3 separate regions of the Homo sapiens genome follow, and all the other regions are linked to region 1. Evidence: promoter capture Hi-C in 16 types of primary human blood cells and fetal thymus (Javierre and others, 2016). All regions are on one chromosome and are shown on one strand. Each heading gives the region's core, a stretch centred on a gene start or on the middle of the fragment in contact. The rest is flanking DNA. Distances are from core to core; before and after follow the strand shown. Region 1 holds the start of NME5 (NME/NM23 family member 5). Region 2 overlaps PKD2L2 (polycystin 2 like 2, transient receptor potential cation channel). Region 3 overlaps FAM13B (family with sequence similarity 13 member B).

What was found. The method cuts DNA at HindIII sites, captures the fragments that hold promoters and counts their contacts. A CHiCAGO score of 5 or more calls a contact.
Region 2: a fragment that was not itself captured here is called in contact with the fragment with the promoter of NME5 in region 1 in 1 of 17 cell types (M1 macrophages); the score reaches 5.2 in M1 macrophages.
Region 3: a fragment that was not itself captured here is called in contact with the fragment with the promoter of NME5 in region 1 in 1 of 17 cell types (naive B cells); the score reaches 5.1 in naive B cells.

Annotation. Positions count from the first base shown.
Region 1 is chr5:138,137,903-138,140,976 of GRCh38, reverse strand. NME5 (NME/NM23 family member 5) reads left to right here and starts at 1,549. Exons shown (of 6, transcript NM_003551.3): 1 at 1,549-1,606; 2 at 2,192-2,325. The coding sequence starts at 2,197. It overlaps BRD8 (bromodomain containing 8), which reads left to right. Exons shown (of 27, transcript NM_139199.2): 26 at 95-272; 27 at 811-1,207. The coding sequence ends at 903. The HindIII fragment of the contact is 15,003 bases long and covers 1-3,074 here.
Region 2 is chr5:137,907,454-137,910,527 of GRCh38, reverse strand. PKD2L2 (polycystin 2 like 2, transient receptor potential cation channel) reads right to left here. Exons shown (of 15, transcript NM_001300921.2): 7 at 2,616-2,786; 8 at 1,582-1,763. Among named protein-coding and RNA genes, the nearest start is that of PKD2L2, 20 kb to the right of the region's middle. The HindIII fragment of the contact is 259 bases long and covers 1,490-1,748 here.
Region 3 is chr5:137,986,284-137,989,357 of GRCh38, reverse strand. It overlaps FAM13B (family with sequence similarity 13 member B), which reads left to right. Exons shown (of 24, transcript NM_001385994.1): 8 at 1,043-1,084; 9 at 1,742-1,897. Among named protein-coding and RNA genes, the nearest start is that of FAM13B-AS1, 45 kb to the left of the region's middle. The HindIII fragment of the contact is 1,300 bases long and covers 871-2,170 here.

The DNA of each region.
Region 1 (3,074 bases), core at 300-2,799:
TAAGAACTGGTTAGTTCTTCAAGAGAACGTGTTAGGTTATCATATGTTCCACATGAAGGTTTGATTTTCTTTGTTTTTTCTTGGCCACCTGCAGACCCATGGACTTAACTAGCCTGAAGAGAAATCTCTCTAAGGGTCGGATTCGCACCATGGCCCAATTCCTGCGAGACCTGATGCTGATGTTCCAAAATGCTGTAATGTACAATGACTCTGATCATCATGTATACCATATGGCTGTGGAGATGCGGCAAGAAGTCCTGGAGCAGATTCAGGTACTGTATGCAGATACCTGTAGCCTCTGGAATCTTGATTTCAGAACGCCTATGAGAATAAAGGTGATTTCGAGGTGACTGTGTTCTCAGAGTTTATTTTTAAAGGTGATTAAGGCCCTGAAGGATTGATAATGTGCCTGCTGGTTTGGAAAACCCTGAGCCTCAGTAAGTCCAGCTCTGATAGTGAAGTAGTCTAGGAATGCAGGCAGCAGTGAAGAGCTCTCAAGAGAGCTGAGGATAGACAAGTAATGGGAATTCCCGCTTCCAGAGCCTCAAGTCAAGGGCTAAACTCCAAAGAGGCTGGAGTCACTGTGTATTTTTTGGTTGCTTCATCTGTTGTTATTAATGTACGTTCACACTTTCCCATCTTTAGGGGATAAGATATAGTAGCTAGAAGACATTTGTGGGTTTCTTTTCTGGGTAGCATCATACTTTAAAGAAAAAAGTATAGTTGAGTCTATTTGCCAAAAAAATAAACTTGCAATACTTTAGTGTTTAAGGTTCATAATAGCTTGCTATGTGTTCCTTAACCCTTTAGGTACTGAATATCTGGTTAGACAAAAGAAAAGGCTCAAGTAGTCTGGAAGGAGAACCAGCTAACCCAGTGGATGATGGAAAACCTGTTTTCTAACCTGGAGCTGCTATCCTGACTTTTTCTAGAGTTTGAATCTCTCCCGGAACTCTGACCTAGAGAGGATCCTGGTACTTCTTTGCCATGTCCTCATTTTCTTTTCCAACAAGAATAATACCTTAACTCACAACCAACGAGTCAAAGATGCATGTGGACATAATATAAAGAAAAAAAGGGGAAGCTGAGGTTTGGATTTATGCCATAAATGTTGCCCACATCTTTGTTCCATCGGCTTGATTTAAAGACAATTCCATTAGATCTTTTCTAAGCCTTTTACTCTATAAATAAATGTATTTACACAATAGGAATATTGCTTTTTAATGACTAGATAAGCTGGGCATAGAGGGCACAGCATCATCTGGTGAAACGAAGGTATCTGACACGGGTCATTTACATATACCGCCTGGAAAGGAATGGTTGGGGGAGGGGTTCTTATCATTTATAGAGTAGGGATAATTGAAGCATCCTTCAAACGGGAAGAAGGATGAAATAAGATAAATTATGAGTAAAATGTCAGAAAACATCTAGTGCTCTAAGATTCACAAGGAGAATAAAAGTGACTGGCTGGCTCCCTTTGGTTAAAACGAACTGGCCAGAAGCTGCAAGGTTCCTTGCTGGGATTGGCTCTCTGCAGCCACCGTCCCCACGCTGGGGCTTCAGGTCTCCTAGCAACAAGTTGTACCATATGAGGACGGCCGCTGAGGTGAGTACTTAGAGAGGGTCAAATTCAGAATTTGCAGGTGCAACCCGGAAAGTCCCCGCGGACCTAGAGGCCCTGCTTTTCAATTAGCCTGACCCTATGCACAGAGAGGTCCCTGCGGGACAGGGTCGCTTCACAGAGGCAGCTGGCCGAGGCCGCTCACCCGCCGCTGTAATGGTGTGTGGTTGCCCACCAGCCACCGTCCCCTCGAGCCCCCACCACCCGCTCTACCGCCCCCTCGAGCCCCCACCACCCGCCCCACCGCCCTCTGCTGCCTGGGGCTGTTGCTGGTTCCAGGCCTTCGGGTCGCCCCTTGGCCTCTGGTTATGTGAGCCCATAGTCCTTCCTGCCTTGGTGACATCGTATACGAAAAGCCGGGGCTCGATTTGGACATAGTAGGAATCCTATTATTGAGACCCTGTATATAGAAAAACATGGCAGTTTCTACCTTCATCAGTTAATAAAATCAAGTACCTACTATTGCTATTCTTAATCATAATTACATTGAATTTGCGATGGGGGTGGGGGGAAATGCATGTCATTGCAGTTGATACCTGTTAAGAAACTCTTAATTTGTGCCCTGAAAAGCCATAATGGAGATATCAATGCCTCCACCTCAGATATATGTAGAAAAAACTCTGGCCATTATCAAACCAGATATTGTTGACAAAGAGGAGGAGATACAAGATATTATTCTTAGATCCGGATTCACCATTGTTCAGGTAACTTCTGGGTATGATGATTCATGCTTTTTTCCTCTCTGCCCTTAAAAAAAAAATGCTTATGTAAATGTGCCTACCCATTTAAACCCTTAGTGTTCAGCATTAAATTTAAGTTTATTCTTCTAAGTATAAAAGTTATATGTGATAGTTTTTAAAAGGATGTAAAATGAGAAATAAAATGGACTTTTCCTTCACCTGTCCTCTTTTACCCCAAGTCCCAGGCTCCAGAGAGAGGCAACCACTTAACACTTTCTGTTCTTCCAGGAGTTTTCTATGCATTTATAAACATTTTCCCCCCATAAAACAGAACAGTCCCTTTCCCTTGACCCCTTTACAGAGTCCCTCAGATAGGATTCCAGATCATTGCATCTGAATTGATCTCACTCTTCCTAATTTCTGTGTAATATTTCCCTGTGTATTAGAACTACAATTTATTTACTTGATCTTCTATTGATGGAATTTTAGGCTATTGGTACTTTTTTCAGTTATGGCATAACATTTAATGTTTTAAGCCTTATGTTCTGCAATTAGTAAACATTGTCATTCTAGGGGTTTGAAAGTGAATATAAATAGCATTGTTAAGGATAAATCAAATAGAATTGAATATTTTTAATCTTCCTCTTTTATAGTTTTTTTTTCTTTTTTTTGAGACAGAGTCTCCCTCTGTAGCCCAGACTGGAGTGCAGTGGTACGATCTCGGCTCACTGCAACCTCTGCCTTCCAGGTCCCGGTTCAAGCAATTCTCCTGC
Region 2 (3,074 bases), core at 370-2,869, 230 kb after region 1:
GTGCTGGCATTACAGGCGCGAACCATCGCACCCGGCCCATCCAGCTTTTAAAATTGTCCTCAAGAGGAGATTGATCTGAATAACCTAACATATCCTTACCAAAAACAGACGTCCTCTCATTAACCCATTTCAAAGTTCTCTACCTGTTCTGTGCTTTATACTTCCCTTTCCTCTTCACTACCCACGGTAAGACAAATTTCCTAGGCTCTGTAAATTATTACATCTGTATTCAATGCCAATTATTACCAAGTTTTATTATTATTATTATTATTATTATTATTATTATTATTATTATTGTTTTAGAGATGGGGTTTCACTCTGTTGCCCATGCTGGAGTGCAGTGGTGTGATCATAGCTCACTGTAACCTCAAACTCCCAGGCTCAAGTGATCCTCCTGCCTCAGTGTCCTGAGTAGTTAGGAATACAAGCATATGCCACCACATCCAGCTAGTTGTTTTTTGTTTTTTTGTAGAAACGCAGTCTTGCTATGTTGCCCAGGTTGGTCTTGAACTCCTGGCCTCAGTGATTCTCCCATCTTGGCCTCCCTAATGCTGGGATTATAGGTGCCATGGCACCCAGCCTAAAGCTATTTTAAAAATACATGTTTGGCAGATTAGCAAAGGACGATCAGGTCAATATCAATAAAAATATTAAGATGGAGCCCTCTAAAGAAAACACTTAAGATTTCTTTTGGCTGGGTGTGGTGGCTCACATCTGTAATCCCAGCACTTTTGAAAGGCCGAGGCAGGAGGATCACTTGAACTCAGGAGTTCAAGACCAGCCTGGGCAACATGGCTAAACCTTATCTCTACAAAAAATACAAAAATTGGCTGGATGTGGTGGCACACCCAGCTACTTGGGAGGCTGAGGTGGGAGGACTGCTTGAGCCCAGGAGTTTTAGGATGCAATGAGCTGTGATAACGCCAGTGTAGTCCAGCCTGGGTGACAGAGTGGAGACCCTGTCTCAAAAAAAAAAAAAAAAAAAAAAATTTCTTTTGTCCAGAGAATAAACACCACAGAGACATGGGGGACAATTTCTATTATCTTAGGTAAAATTATCACTTCCAATGAAAAATGAAAAATTATTTTTCTAACTTGACCTATTAACACCTTAAAAATGGACACCGTCACCCATTTGGCTCCTTCAATGTCAAATCCTAATTTGAATGTGACAGATATTTAGCCATCAGTGAAAATATCAGCCAGGCTGGTGGCTCATGCCTGTAATCCCAGCATTTTGGGAGGCCGAGGCAGGAGGTTCACTTGAACCCAGAAGTTTAAAACCACCCTGGCCAACATGGTGAGACCAAAAAATAATAAAAATGTAATCAACCAAGCGTGGTGGTGCACACCTGTAGTCCTAGCTACTTGGGAGGCTGAGGATAGCTTGAGTCCAGAAGTTTGAGGCTTCAGTGAGCTATGAGACCCTGTCTCCAGAAAAATAAAAAGAAAAAGAAAATATCAAACTAAGTTTAAATATATTAAAGCTTATATTACTACTTATCATAGAAGGTTAGACCTTTCCAATTTTTTTTGTAAGAAAATATAGAAGATATAATTACATTTATACTAAGAGCTTACATGGAATTCTGAAAAGTGGAAAAGTCATCAACTTGTGATCCAAAAACAAGAAATCCTAACTGGGCATAAGCAAAGAATATTATAAAAAACATGATGGCAAATCCTACTATGTCTTTAACACAACGGGACAAGGTTGATGACAGCTGAGACATTGTCTTGTTAAAGCTTATGAATTTGAATATCTGAAAAAGAACAAAGTTAATTGAAATAGGAGAATATCAAAGATGAAATTACTTAGAATAAATTAATTTCAGAAGAATTCTGCTTCGAATTAAAGGAGATATTTAATGATAATCATGGGTGTTTGAGGATTTCCCAGCAATCATTACAAGGCCAAACTTCTGTTTTTTTTTTTTGAGATGGAGTCTCACTCTGTCACCCAGACTGGAGTGCTGTGGCATGATCTCGGCTCACTGCAACCTCTGCCCCCTAGGTTCAAGTGATTCTCCTGCCTCAGCCTCCCTAGTAGCTGGGATTACAGGCACGTGCCACCATGCCCAGCTAGTATTTTTTGTATTTTTAGTAGAGACAGGATTTCACCATGTTGGCCAGGCTGGTCTCAATCTCCTGAGCTCAGGTGATCCGCCCACCTCAGCCTCCCAAAATGCTGGGATTACAGGCGTGAGCCACCGTGCCTGGCCAACTTCTTTTTTTTCTGTCATCCAGGCTGGAGTGCAGTGGGGGATTACAGCTCACTGTAACCTCCACTTCACGGGCTCAAGGGATCCTCCCACCTCAGCCTCCAGAGTAGCTGGAACTACAGGCTTGCACCACCACACCCAGTTAATATTTTTTTGATATTTTTTGTAGAGATAGGATTTCCCAGGCTGGTCTCAAACTCCTGGGGCCAAGAATCTACCTGCCTTGGCCTTCCAAAGTGCTAGGAGTACAGGTATGAGCCACTGTGCTGGCCCAAACTACTTTTAAAATTACTTAATAGTTGAAAAAATCTTTTTTCCCCATGGCTTTTTAGTTTAATTTTTCATTATGCTATTACACTGCTTGTATTATGTAATATAATGAAATATAAATACCTTTATCCATGCAAAAAAGATGGTAATAGCAATTATATTATTGTAATAAATGTGCCAGCATGCAAGAAAATAGAAATCTGAATATTTTTCAGTACTTTTCAACAGCTGTCCAAGTAAGAGAAAAATTTGTACATTATAGTATGTGTTGAAGGAAACAGCCACAAAACACAACTAAATGGGAAAATAAGAAGGGTTAAATTAGAGAATATCTCTACCTCTAAATATCTTACAGCCTATGAGGAAACACAAAAAAAGTTCATCAAAAGTTTAACAAAGAGGGAAGGAAAGATAGGACATATGCTTTTACATAAATGGAAATTACCCTCAACTTATACAAGTTTAAGGTAGCATTAATTATTATAAAGTTGAAAAATATTAATTGCTTGGCCATCCTAACCTATCTAAATCTTTGTTTCTTTGCGTCATAAAGCGCAAATGTATAAAATGATTATGTAACTC
Region 3 (3,074 bases), core at 271-2,770, 150 kb after region 1:
AGCATTTGTTCACTTCGCTACTGAGAGACATGAAGATTGCTGAGTGAATGAATGGTAAATGATACTCATTTGGTTTCCTGCAGTGGATCCTGACAATACTAACTTCATAGCGTTTGTTCTGCATTTTGGTTAGAGATTGTATTGCCACATTTTGGAGGATCTTCATAAAACTAATTTACGTTTAAAAAATGACAAGGTAGCTACAGATGTGGTGTTCAGGTCAAGAAGGCAGGGTCACTCCTCCCTATGGCTAAGTGTTGGCTGTGATGATGTGCTTAGGCACACAGTGCCATTTAAACATACCTTATCTTTTATCTGATAAATGATTTTTTAAAAATTACCTGTATTCATCAATGGCTAATACTACTGTTCACCTAAATCCAGTACAACTAATTTTCCCTCCAGCTTTGGAAATAGATCAGTTTTTCTCCACCTGAGCACCAGAGAAAGTAGTTGTCCCACTCTCACCCCCACAAGTATATATATTTGGGGGTCTTTTTGTGTGAAAAATAGTTTCTTTAGAAAATTAGGTTCATCATCTGTGAGAGGTGCTCATGCTGTGGTGTGTGTTTTTGTTTTTAGTCACTTTTTTTTGTTGTAGAAGGCAGTAGAGCATCTTTGTTAATAGCAGGGGCTTTGGGGTACCCAACCCATGGCCATATGCATTTGGCCAAGTTAATTAACATCTTTGAGCTTCACTTTTGTGGAAAGGGGGAAATAATTGTAACTCCTTGGGTATTGAAAGTTATTAAATGAGAGATAAATGCATGTAATGGTCCTAGCTCATAATGAATTCTAACTTTAAAATTTTTGGTCTTGTTAGTGATACGTTTTTCCAAATTTATTTTCTTTGGTTAATATTTGAAAGCTTTACCAACCAGATTCAGAAAATATTTCCAACTTGATATGTAAACAAGAATACAACACTTAGTATGTGCTCTCCTGGTTGTGTCAAGGTAGTGCAAATATGGCAGATTTCAGCACATTTTGTAGTTATTAAGTATTGAACATTTTTATAGCTAATTTCTTTCTTTGATTGCAGCACCCATATATCTCCCATCAGCATCCTACCAGCCTCTACAGAGTAAGTAGTATATTTATAGAAGACAAATTTTTAAGATTTTAAAATACTACTAAGCTGTAGAAATGAAAATAATGTACTTGTGCTCACTTTAGAGGAAAGACTGTACACAGGCAGTAAACTAGTTTTTTATGTACTGTGATAGGAACAAATGAAGAAGAAACCCATTGCATTACTATACAAAATAAAGATGAGCTTTCTTCAGATGGTTTTTTTGAATCCTCTGAAATAATTGAAAAATGTTCATAGAATATAAGTTTTAAAAAAGTAGACTTTACATAAGAAGTGTGAGCAGTACTCATGGTTTCTTTCATTTTGCTGTTAGTAGGTTATTTTGCTTTATAAGTATAGCTTTGAAAAGCCTTATTTAGTGGTTTTCTGTGTAGTGAGGAGTGAATTATAGGGACAACTGATCTTTCCCATCCCAGTAATAATAGTGACATTATGGTTGATTTGTATATGATTGTCTGTTTGGGTAAATTTTACTTTTAAAACTTAAGCCAGTATCATGTATTCCTTTTATGTATTTCTTTTTACACTTTGGTTTACCCATTTAAGTACCATAATAGTTTTACTGGTCATAGGTTTTAGCATTTATGTCTGTGTCACCAGATATCCAGTTAGAGTGACTGCTTCTTACTAAAACGTGTTGTTTTGTAGTATTTTAGAAAGAACAATTAGAGCAGCTGTGGAACAGCACCTTTTTGATCTTCAGAGCAGCATAGATCATGATCTTAAGAATTTACAACAGCAAAGTGTGGTGTGTAATAATGAAGCAGAAAGTATTCATTGTGATGGGGAAGGATCTAATAACCAGTAAGAAACATTTTACTGTTGTTTATTAAATGTTATAAAATTGTTTTATCTTAAAACTGTATTGCTACTTAAATAACAGGATCTCATCTTTCTTGGAGATTTCTGAAAGTTGTTTGTGAAAAGTGACTTTGTATATATACTTGTATATACATCCATACTTAACACTGGATATCTCATCACTTTTTTCATAATATATGTTTTATTAAGTCCAATACAGGTTTGTTTGTTTTTTGTTGTTTTTTTTCCCCTGAACATCGAATGAAGTAACAAGCTTACCTTTAGGAATTATGTTGTATGAAAAATAACTTTAAAAAATTAGACTCTGCAACAGAGTGATCTAGACAGACAGTTACAGGGGCAGCAGATTGATATCACTATAGTGCATATAATCATTGAGTGAAATGGTGGGCAGAATCATCCTTTGCTATTTAAATAGTTATCCCTTCCCACCAGCCTCTCCCCTGCTTATGTTTTTGTTAGATTAACTCTTAATACAGGTTGAGCATCCCTAATCCAAAAATCCAAAATCTGAAGTGCTCCCAAATCCAAAACTTTGAGCACTGACATGATACTCAGAAGAAATGCTCATTTGAGCATTTTAGATTTTGGATTTTCAGATTAGGGATGCCAGTCTGGCACCTCTCCTTGGGATGTTGTGAGGGACCTTGTTTGTCATGCTCTCTGAAAATTTTCATAAGCAAATGAATGGCTTTTAAAATAATTTATGAGCCAGTTGCTAACTGGCAAATATTCCAAAATCTGAAAACAAACAAAACAAATCTGAAACACTTCTGGTCCGAAGCTTTTCCGACAAGGAATAATCAACCTGTATTTAAATGTGTATTAGTTAAAAGTACTTATAATGCATGATGTTACTCCACTCTTCATCTGACCTGTTACCTTTAAATGAAGGAAAGCCTCTCTTTGTTTTCTATTACTTCAGTCCTGTATTTCAGGATACCTGTGTGCCTCCCTCAGAGACCGTGGTGCAGTGATTTCATGTTTTTCATATATCAATTTTTTTTGGGGGGGGGAAGATGAGAAAAATGTACCCAAATCTAGAAGATTCATAGGAAGGTAAAGGAAAAAAAAAGATAATTGGGGAGTGGTTTTTTTTTTAAGACAGTTTTTAAAAGGGCTAACTAGAATAGCTATCAAATATAAAATGAAAAATGTA